Linked DNA regions of Homo sapiens: region 2 is linked to region 1. Evidence: promoter capture Hi-C in human tissues and cell types (Jung and others, 2019). All regions are on one chromosome and are shown on one strand. Each heading gives the region's core, a stretch centred on a gene start or on the middle of the fragment in contact. The rest is flanking DNA. Distances are from core to core; before and after follow the strand shown.

What was found. The method cuts DNA at HindIII sites, captures the fragments that hold promoters and counts their contacts. A contact is called where the count stands out against the background at its distance.
Region 2: a fragment that was not itself captured here is called in contact with the fragment with the promoter of PCGF3 in region 1 in 1 of the 25 tissues and cell types used here (lymphoblastoid cells).

What each region holds. Positions count from the first base shown.
Region 1 is chr4:702,649-707,984 of GRCh38, reverse strand. It overlaps PCGF3 (polycomb group ring finger 3), which reads right to left and starts at 2,153. Exons shown (of 11, transcript NM_006315.7): 1 at 2,015-2,153. RefSeq lists enhancers at 395-1,379, 1,380-2,365, 3,406-4,133 and a silencer at 1,731-2,430. The HindIII fragment of the contact is 34,476 bases long and covers 1-5,336 here.
Region 2 is chr4:939,999-945,468 of GRCh38, reverse strand. All of the region lies in intron 1 of TMEM175 (transmembrane protein 175), which reads right to left. Among named protein-coding and RNA genes, the nearest start is that of TMEM175, 10 kb to the right of the region's middle. RefSeq lists an enhancer at 1-333. The HindIII fragment of the contact is 4,192 bases long and covers 1-3,346 here.

The sequences.
Region 1 (5,336 bases), core at 904-3,403:
CCAGGGGAAAACAGGGCTGTCCCAGGGTCCCGGCCCCCAGGGGAAAACAGGGCTGTCCCAGGGTCCCGACCCCCAGGGGAAAACAGGGCTGTCTCAGGGTCCCGACCCCCAGGTGAAAACAGGGCTGTCCCAGGGTCCCGACCCCCAGGGGAAAACAGGGCTGTCCCAGGGTCCCGGCCCCCAGGGGAAAACAGAGCTGTCCCAGGGTCCCGGCCCCCAGGTGAAAACAGAGCTGTCTCAGGGTCCCGGCCCCCAGGTGAAAACAGAGCTGTCTCAGGGTCCCGGCCCCCAGGGGAAAACAGAGCTGTCCCAGGGTCCCGACCCCCAGGGGAAAACAGGGCTGTCCCAGGGTCCCGACCCCCAGGGGAAAACAGAGCTGTCCCAGAGTCCCGACCCCCAGGGGAAAACAGAGCTGTCCCAGGGTCCCGACCCCCAGGGGAAAACAGGGCTGTCCCAGGGTCCCGGCCCCCGGGTGAAAACAGGCTGTCCCAGGGTCCCGGCCCCCAGGGGAAAACAGGGCTGTCTCAGGGTCCCGGGGGAGACGGGGCAGTCTCAGGGTCCCAGCAGTGCTCACAGGACTCACAAGACTGCTCCAGGGTCAGGTCCTCCTGAATTATGGTCATGGGGTCCTGGCCCTCGTCTGTGACCCACTTTAAGGCAGGACCTTCCTGGGGGATCTATTCTGGGGTCCTGGCATTCTTTGGATTCTGCCTGGTCCCTACGTCTGGCCCTCCTCCGTGATTCTTCCCAGGGTCCTAGCCCCCCCGGGCCCTGCCAGGTGGCCAGGTCCGACCCTCCTTGGTGACCCATCTTGGGGTCCCAGCCCTTCTCGGTGACCTGTCCCAGGGTCAGACCCTCCTGGATGATGTGTCATTGTGTCCTAGCACTCTGGGGGTCCTGTGCAATCCCAGAGCCCAACTCTCTTCAGGTCCTGCCTGGTCTGAAGACCCAGCCCTCCCGGGGTCCTGCCTGGGCTGGGGTCGCGACCTTCCCAGGGTCCTGCCTGGGCTGGGGTCCCTACCCTCCCGCGGTCCTGCCTGGGCTGGGGTCTTTGCCCTCACCTGGGTCCTGCCTGGTCTGGGGTCTTCGCCCTCCCTGGGTCCTGCCTGGGCTGGGGTCGCGACCTTCCCAGGGTCCTGCCTGGTCTGGGGTCCCTGCCCTCCCGCGGTCCTGCCTGGGCTGGGGTCTTCGCCCTCACCTGGGTCCTGCCTGGTCTGGGGTCTTCGCCCTCCCTGGGTCCTGCCTGGGCTGGGGTCGCGACCTTCCCAGGGTCCTGCCTGGTCTGGGGTCCCTGCCCTCCCGCGGTCCTGCCTGGGCTGGGGTCTTCGCCCTCCCTGGGTCCTGCCTGGTCTGGGGTCTTGGCCCTCCCGGGGTCCTGCCTGGTCTGGGGTCCCTGCCCTCCCGCGGTCCTGCCTGGGCTGGGGTCTTCGCCCTCCCTGGGTCCTGCCTGGTCTGGGGTCTTGGCCCTCCCGGGGTCCTGCCTGGTCTGGGGTCTTGGCCCTCCCTGTTCTGGGGTCTTTGCCCTCCCTGGGTCCTGCCTGGGCTGGGGTCTTCGACCTCCCGGAGTCCTGCCTGGGCTGGGGTCTTGCCCTCCCTGCGTCCTGCCTGGACTGGGGTCTTGCCCTCCCTGCGTCCTGCCTGGGCTGCTGTCCCAGCCCTCCCTGGGTCCTGCCTGGGCTGGGGTCTTCGACCTCCCGGAGTCCTGCCTGGGCTGGGGTCTTGCCCTCCCTGCGTCCTGCCTAGGCTGGAGTCCCAGCCCTCCCGGGGTCCTGCCTGGGCTGGGCTCTTGGCCCTCCCGGAGTCCTGCCTGGGCTGGGGTCTTCGACCTCCCGGAGTCCTGACTGGGCTGGGGTGCCGGCCCTCCCGGGCCTGCCAAGGGCTTCCCGGGCCAGGCCGACGGGGACGACGGAGCGCGGGCCCGGGGTTCGGAGCCTTCCGGGCCGGACACGGGCCGAGGCCGCAGCCTGAGGAGCGGGCGCCGAGGGCCCAGGCCAGGCGGGGCGGACTCACTGACCTGCGGTCTCGGGGCTGCGGGCGAGCAAGGCGCACGCGGGGTCCGCGCCGGAGGGGGGAGGGGGCGCCGCTCCCTCTGGGTCCCCCCCAAGAGGAGGAGAAAAAAGCCCGTCCGGAGTTTAAAACAAAGAGGCGGAAATGCCCGAGCCGAGCCGAGCGCCGCGTCGGGGGCGCCGCGCTCGGAGCATGCGCGGTGTGCGTCTGGGCTCCCACCCCGCGGCAAGGGGCGTGGGCGGGGCCAGGCGGTAAGGGGTGGGGATAGGGGCGGGGAGGGGCGTGTTCAGAGGGCGCAGGCGCGTCGGGCCTGGACTCGGCGGAGGGAGCCGCGGGGCGCGAGGGCCAGGGGCGAGGCATAGGGCGGGGCCATGAGGGGCGTGGTCAGGAGAGCGACAGGGCCGCGCTGTGCTGAGGGACCCGACGGGTCCTGGACGATCGTGAGCTGGGGCGCTGGAGCAGCAGAGTCCTCAGGCCCGGGTCCCTCCGGGGGTGCCGTCCAGTACGGGTGCTGCTGTCCTTTGTGGGAGCCGGGACTGAGCGCCCTCCCGGCAGGGTTAAGGGTCGGTGTTAGGGTCAGGGGTCGGGTTAGGGGTCAGAGTCAGGGTTAGGGTTGGGTTTAGGTTTAGGGTCAGGGTTAGGGGTTAGAGTCAGGGTTAGGACTGGGTTTAGGGCTAGGGTCAGCATTAGGGGTTAGGGTTAGGGTTGGGTTTATGGTTAGGGTCAGGATTAGGGGTGGGGTCAGGGTCAGGGGTTAGGGTCTGGTCTAGGGTTAGGGTTGGGTTTAGGGTTAGGGTCAGGGTTAGGGTTAGGGTTGGGTTTTAGGGTTAGGGTCAGGGTTAGGGTTAGAGTCAGGGTTAGGACTGGATTTAGGGTTAGGGTCAGCATTAGGGGTTAGGGTTAGGGTTGGTTTTACGGTTAGGGTCAGGATTAGGGGTAGGGTCAGAGTTAGGGGTTAGGTTTAGGGTTAGGGTTGGGTTTAGGGTTAGGGTCAGGATTAGGGGTGGGGTCAGGGTCAGGGGTTCGGGTCTGGTCATGTTTAGGCTTGTATTTAGGTTATGTTCAGCATCAGGACGGACAGGGCACCCACGTGCGGACTCTCCGACCTGGGTGCCCTCCGCCAGGGTGGAGCAGTACGGGCGGCATTTGCGCCTTCGTGGGACTGGCACTGTCCTGAGAGGGCGGGATCCGAGGACCGAGGGCGCGTGCGGGGGTGAGGCGGACGTGCAGGCACGCGGGGTCCTAGGGTCTCCCGGTTTGCGGGTTCTGGGCTGGCGGCCCAGGACGGGAGGGCAGGTTGGGTCTTGGGTGGGAAGCGAGACCACTGTGGTTCCGGGCGGCGGGGCACCGCGCAGTGTGGAGGCTTGGTGGCGAGAGGGGAGGCCCCGTAGGCCCAGGGGCACTCGCTGCGAGGCTGTGCGGTGCAGGCATGGAGCAGGAGTCGGGAGTCATTAGCTCGTCCCGTCTGGAGAGGTGGTGGCTGAGGGAGTGACCCTGCGACTGTCCCCGTGAAGTCTAGAGTTGGACCCCGGGAGCAGCCACCAGGCAGGGGGCCCCGGGCCCAGGTATGGTGCAGCACGTGGGGAAGCGGCTTGAGTCCGCTGCTGAGAGGGGCCTGAGAAGGGCTGGGGGCCTGCTGAGATCTCCAGCACTGGGTGGACACGTTATCCGGGTGGGAGGAGGACAGACAGCAGACATGTGAATGTGTACAGCATTCCCAGGCATGCTGCTGTGAAGGGGAGGGACTAAATGTGGCCACTGCTGCCCCCGGGGGAGGGGAGGCAGGGAGGGCTCCGTGGAGCCATGGGGTGGCCCAGTGCAGGGGAGGGGCCCACTGGAGAGGGCTGCCTGGGATTGGGGTACTGGGGTGCTGGCCCTCCACAAGAGCCCTGACTGCAGTTTTCAGTTGGTGGAGGCAGGCCCCAGATGTGGAGGGGAGGACTGGAGGATCATCCCAGAAGGAGGGCAGGGGCAAGGTATTGGTGCTGGGGTGCAAGGGGCAGGGGGTGGCCAGCAGGCCAGGAACAGTCCTGGGCTGAGTGTGGTGGCCTCAGGAAGAGGCAGAGTGGTAAGCTGCAGTTCAGAACTCACTCCAGGCCCCAGGCCCCTCCTCAAGGAGGTGCAGACCCTACCCCTAGGCTTCCCACTACTCTCCTGGGTGGGTGCCAGCGGTGCCCGGACCTTGACTCTGAGCCCTGGGCTCTTGTGTCCAGCTCTGTTTCTGCTGAATGTCATTAGGAAGCTTAAATGCCACATGGCCGGATGGCTTCCCCAGGCCATCCTGAGTCTGCTGTGTACCCCAGGACCCCCCACCCCCCACCGCCAGTCCTGAGGCAAGACCCCAGAGTCCTCTGCACCCTCTTCCTCTCATGCCCAAACTGGCCATCCATGGCCCATCGGCAGCCAGCCAGGTCTCCCACCTGCACCCTCCTGGGACCTCACTCAGCCAAGGCCCGAGGGTGGAGGCATCGGGGCCAAAGAAGCCTAGGGTGTTGGCAGTGTGTGCTGTCCTGGTGTGAGTTCGGGGTGTGCACATATTACATACAGGCACGTATTCCTTAGCAGAGCTGTAAAGAAGGGAGGCAGGAATCATGGCACAAGCAGACTGGAGTAGAGGGGAGGCCCCTGTCCCCCCCAGAGGGTGCCCCAACCTTCCCCAGGGTGCCGGTCCGCCCTCCCTGCCCACCCAGTCACTAGGGCCTCCTAGGGCCATTGGGTGCCTCTCTGGCAGATCATTCTGGTCACTCACAAACTGGCAGAGGGTCTGCCCATCCTTGAGGATGGAGCAGAACAGAAAGAGCTCGCTGGACCCTGTGCTTCTCTGCTGTCTTCACAGCGTCACTCTTCAGGAACTCTTTCTCCAATTTCCCTCCCCGAGTTCTCTCTTAAGCACATCAGGCATCTGCGCCTACCCCCATGTCTCAACCAAATGCTCCAGGACTTTGTGGGGTAAATCCAACTGCCTTTGTCACCACCCTTTCTGTTGCTGGGGTACAGACATGTGGTCTTGTTCCCAATTGCTCTCTTCTGTTTTCATCAGAAAGTCCTGCCAGCTCTGTCTTGGAAACTTCCCATCATCCAACCATGGCTTTCCAAGGCTGCTCTGGCCCAAACCCGCCCTGTCCTGCTGGAACTGGTGCCACAGCCTTGGGCCCCCCACCCCCAGTCAATCCTCAACAGAGCAGCCAACCAGCGGGTCCCGTCACACCCAAGTGGGAGCGCTCCACCCAGCGCGTGATGATAAGGACGTCCTCTGAGGTCCCTGCTCCCACCTCTGCCTGTTTCCCCAAGCTCACTCCACCCAGAGCTCTCCCTGACACTCACTCACC
Region 2 (5,470 bases), core at 1-2,500, 240 kb before region 1:
GTGGTGGGCGTGAGGCGACGGGAGGGCAGGGACCTGGGGAAAACAGAAACCGAGGCTGGAATGAACGGTGGGGACAGACGGCGGGGAGTGAGACGACAGGACGGCAAAGACGTGGGGAAAACAGAAGCTGAGGCAGCAACAAACGGCGGGGAGTGAGGAGACAGAGACGGCGGGGGCCTGGGGAAACAGAAACTGAGGCAGGAATGTAAACGGACATGTGTGTTTCAGCGACAGTTTAGCAACAGTTAATAAGGTGTAGTGCCATACCCTCCAAGGGTCCATTCCAGGCAGTCTCACTGGGACTGCCATGACAGGCTGCCTAGGGTCTGCACTGAGGCAACACGCAGTTTTTCTTTTTTTCTTTTTGAGACAGGGTCTCAGTCTGTTGCCCACGCTGGAGGGCAGTGGCGTAATCACGGCTCACTGCAGCCTCGACCTCCTAGGCTCAAGTGATCCTCCCACCTCAGCCTCCTGTGTTGCTGGGACTACAGGCGTGCACCACCAAGCCTGGCTAATTTTTTGTATTTTTCATAGAGACAGGGGTTTCATCATGTTGCCCAGGCTGGTCTTGAAGTCCTGGGCTCAAGCAATCTCCTTGCCTCAGCCTCCCAAAGTGCTTGGATTACAGGCGAGAGCCACCGCAGCCAGCCCGGTGTGTTTTAACAATAAAACTAAAACACATTCTGACTAGTAAGGGACAAATCATTAAACCATGAAGTAAACTATCAGAAAGTTAAAACAGATCTACAAGTATAGAACTATAAAACAAAATGTTGAGACAAAAAAATCAAGTTGCAAAACCATACTATTGTACCATTTATGTAAACAATGGACACATAAAACCATCTATCTTCTTAATTATACACACACCGTATGTGTATACGGTAAGAAATGAAAACCACAAATAAGAACAATGTTCGCCAACTTCCAGACAGCGCTGCAGCAACCCAGGCAGGGAGGGGCGGGGAGCAGGTGGGGGGCTTTTGCTCTATGCCCAGGTTACTTCTTACCTAGAATGCAGACAGGCATGTAACCACAGCTAGCCACAATCCAGCAAACTGTTCTATCCCCAAACAGCATCTTTGTGTTCAAGCTTCCCCAACCCCAAGCTCCAGCAACCACTGATCTGTTTTCTGTCACTGTAATTTTGCCTCGTTTATTTAGTTAATTATTTTTTTGAGACAGTCTTGCTCTGTCGCCCAGGCTGGATTGCAGTGGCACGATCGCAGCTCACTGCAACCTCCGCCTCCTGGGTTCAAGCGATTCTTGTGCCTCAGCCTCCCGAGCAGCTGGGATTACAGGCACCAGCCACCATGCCTGGCTAATTTTTGTATTTTTAGTACAGACAGGGTTTCACCATGATTCCCAGGCTGGTGTCAAACTCCTGACCTCAGGTGATCCACCTACCTTGGCCTCCCGAAATGCTGGGATTGCATGCGTGAGCCACTGCACCCAGCCAATTTTGCCTTTTTTAGAATGTGGTATAAACGGAATCGCACCCTCCAGAGGTTTTGAGTCTAGCTTCTTTCGAGACTCATCTGTGGTGCTGGGAGTATCAGTAACACACTTCTTTGGTTGCTGTGTGGTAATTTCACTGCATGGACACACCTCAGTTTGTGGATCCACTTACCAGCTGAAAAACGTGTGTATTGTTTCATTTTGCACAATTATGAATAAAGCCACTATATATAAACGTTTGCACACAGGCATTTGTGTAAACATGTTTTCATGACTTTTGGGTAAATGCCTTTGAGTGGTTTTGCTGGGTCGTATTGTAAGGACATGTTTCCTTCCTGAGAAACCACCCGACAATTTGCCGAGGCAGCTGCACCATCTGCATTCCCACCGACAGGCATGAGACCTGCGCTTGCTCATCTCCTCTGGTACTCAGTTTGGCACAGCTTAGAGAAATAATTTAGCTGGGCGCGGTGGCTCATGCCTGTAATCCCAGAACTTTGGGAGGCCGAGGCGGGCAGATCACTTGAGGTCCGGAGTTCGAGACCAGCCTGGCTAACATGGTGAAACCCCATCTCTACTAAAAATACAAAAATTAGCTGGGTGTGGTGGCACACACCTGTAATCCCAGCTACTCGGGAGGCTGAGGCAGGAGAATTGCTTGATCCCAGAAAGTGGACGTTGCGGTGAGCCAAGATCGTGCCACTGCACTCCAGGCTGGGAGACAGAGTAAGACTCCGTCTAGGAAAAAAATAGTAATAATAAAAATCAATAATTCAATTAATTTATTTTAGTCATTCTAGTACTCGTGTAGGGGTGTCTCATTGTGGTTTTAATCTGCTATTTCTCTACTGACTAATTAGGCATCTTTCATCTGTATAGCTTTCACAGTGAAGTGTCTTAGAATCTTTGCTTGTTTACTGAGTTGTTTGTAATGTCATTGAGTTTTGAGAGTTCTTTATATTCTAGTTAAAAATCCTGCAAGATGTGTAATTTGGAAATATTTTCTTGCAGTCTGTGGCTTGTCTTTTCACTCTCTTACCAGTCTTTAGGAGAACAGAAGTTCTGAATTTTGGCTGGGCGCAGTGGCTCACACCTGTAATCCCAGCATTTTGGGAGGCAGAGGCGGGCGGATCACCTGAGATGAGGGGTTCAAGACCAGCCTGGCCAACATGGCAAAACCCCATCTCTACTAAAAATACAAAAATTAGCTGGACGTAGTGGTGTGCGCCTGTAGTCCCAGCTACTCAGGAGGCTGAAGCAAGAGAATCGCTTGAACCTGGGAGGCGAAGGTTGCAGTGAGCTGAGATTGCACCACTGTACGCCATCCTGGGTGACAGAGTGAGACTCTGTCTCAAAAAGAAAAAAAAAAAAAAAGAAAATTCAAGGAACCTTAACAGCCAAAATAATATTGAAAAAGAACAAAATTGGGAGCACTCCCACTTTCTGATTTCAAAATTTAGTACAAAGCTACAGTAGTCAAGACAGCATAGACACAGACCAATGGAATATAGTTCAGAAATAAACCCCTACATTTATGGTTAACTGATTTTGACAAGGATGCCGAGACCACTCGATGGGAAAAGAAAAGTCTTTTTCACAAATGGTGTTGGGACAACTGAATATCCACATGCAAAAGAATGAATTCGGGCCGGGCATGGTGGCTCATGCCCAAAATCCCAGCACTTTGGGAGGCTGAGGAAGGCGGATCACAAGGTCAGGAGATCGAGATCATCCTGGCCAAGATGGTGAAACCTCGTCTCTACTAAAAATACAAAAATTAGCTGGGCATGGTTGCACGTGCCTGTAGTCCCAGCTACTCAGCTACTCGAGAGGCTGAGGCAGGAGAATCGCTTGAACCCGGGAGGCGGAGGTTGCAGTGAGCCGAGATCGCACCACTGCACTCCAGCCTAGCAATAGAGAGAGACTCTATCTCAAAAAAAAAAGAAAAAAAAAGAATGAATTCGGACTCAACCTAATTAATACACATACAAAAGTTAACTCGAAGTGGATCAATGATGTAAATGTAAGAGTTAAAACTATAAAACTCTTGGAAGATGATGCCGGAGAAAATCATTTCATGACATTGGGTTTGACAAAATATTCTTTTTTTTTCTTTTTTTATAAAGACATGGGGTCTATGTGGCCCAGGCTGGGCTCTAGCAATTCTCCTGCCTCGGCCTCCCAAGTAGCTGGGATTATAGGAATGAGCCACCACGCCTGGCCAAAATTGATTTTTTCTTTAAGCCGTTTTAGGTTTATAGAAAAACTTAGCAGAGGCCGGGCGCGGTGGCTCACTCCTGTAATCCCAGTACTTTGGGAGGCCAAGGTGGGCGGATCACCTGATGTCAGGAGTTCAAGACCAGCCTGGCCAACATGAAACCCCACCTCTACTAAAAATACAAAAATTAGCTGGGTGTGGTGGTACGCGTCTGTAATTCCAGCTACTCGGGAGTTTGACGCAGGAGTATTTCTTGAACCAGGGAGGCAGACGCTGCCGTGAGCCGAGATTACGCCACTGCACTGCAACCTGAGTGACAGAGCCAGACTCCATCTCAAGAAAAAAAAAAAAAAGAAAAATAGAGCAGAAAGTACAGAGTTTTTTTTGTTTTGTTTCTTTTTTTTTTTTTTTTTTTTGAGACAGAGTTTCGCTCTTGCTACCCAGGCTGGAGTGCAATGGCACGATCTCGGCTCATTGCAACCTCTGCCTCCTGGGTTTAAACGATTCTCCTGTGTCAGCCTCCCGAGCAGCTGGGATTACAGGTGCCTGCCATAACACCCAGCTAATTTTTGTATTTTTAGTAGAGATAGGGTTTCACCATGTTGGCCAGGATGGTCTTGAACTCCTGACCTCGTAATCTGCCCACCTTGGCCTCCCAAAGTGTTGGGATTACAGGCGTGAGCCACTGCACCCGGCCCAGAGTTCTTTTATACACTTTCACATCCCCCTTTCCCCTTTCTCCCATTATTATTATTATTATTATTATTATTATTATTATTATTATTTTGAGACGGAGTCTCACTCTGTCACCCAGGCTGGAGTGCAGTGGCACAATCTTGGCTCACTGCAACCTCCGACTCCTGGGTTCAAGCGATTCTCCTGCCTCAGCCTCCTGAGTAGCTGGGATTACAGGCACACGCCACCACGCCTGGCTAATTTTTGTATTTTTAGTAAAGATGGAGTTTCACCATGTTGGTCAGGCTGATCTCGAACTCCTGACCTCGTGATCCACCCACCTCAGCCTCCCAAAATGCTGGGATTACAGGCATGAGCCACCATGTCTGGCCTCCCTTTCTCCTATTATTAACATCTTACATTGGTGTGGCACATACGGCACAATTGACAAGCAAATATTCATACATCACAATTAACCTAAGTCCATAGTTTACATTAGGCTTCATTCTGTGCTGTATTCTATGGGTTTTGACAAATGTAAAATGACTTGTTTTCACCAAAACAGTATCATACAGAATAGTTTAAACACCCTAAAAATCTCTGGTGCTCCACCCTCCCTCTTTCTTCCTGAACCCCTAGCAACTACTGCTTTTTTTTTTTTTTTTTTTTGAGATCGAGTTTCACTCTTGCTGCCCAGGCTGGAGTGCAATGGTGCAATCTCGGCTCACTGCAACCTCCAGCTCCCAGGTTCAAGTGATTCTCCTGTCTCAGCCTCCTGAGTAGCTGGGATTACAGGCGCATGCCACCACGCCCAGCTAATTTTGTATTTTTAGTAAAGGTGGGGCTTCACCATGTTGGCCAGGCTGGTCTCGAACTCCAGACCTCAGTTGATCTGACTGCCTTGGCCTCCGAAAGTGCTGGGATTACAGGCGTGAGCCACTGCGCCTGGCCTACTGCTCTTTTTACTGTCTTCATAATTTTGCCTTTTCCAGAATGTTCTATAGTTAGAATCATACAGTATGGAACCTTTTCAGATTGGCTTCTTTCATTGAGCAATATGCATTTAAGGTTCCTTCAAGTCTTGTTGTTGCTTGATAGCTTATCTTTTTATTATTGAAT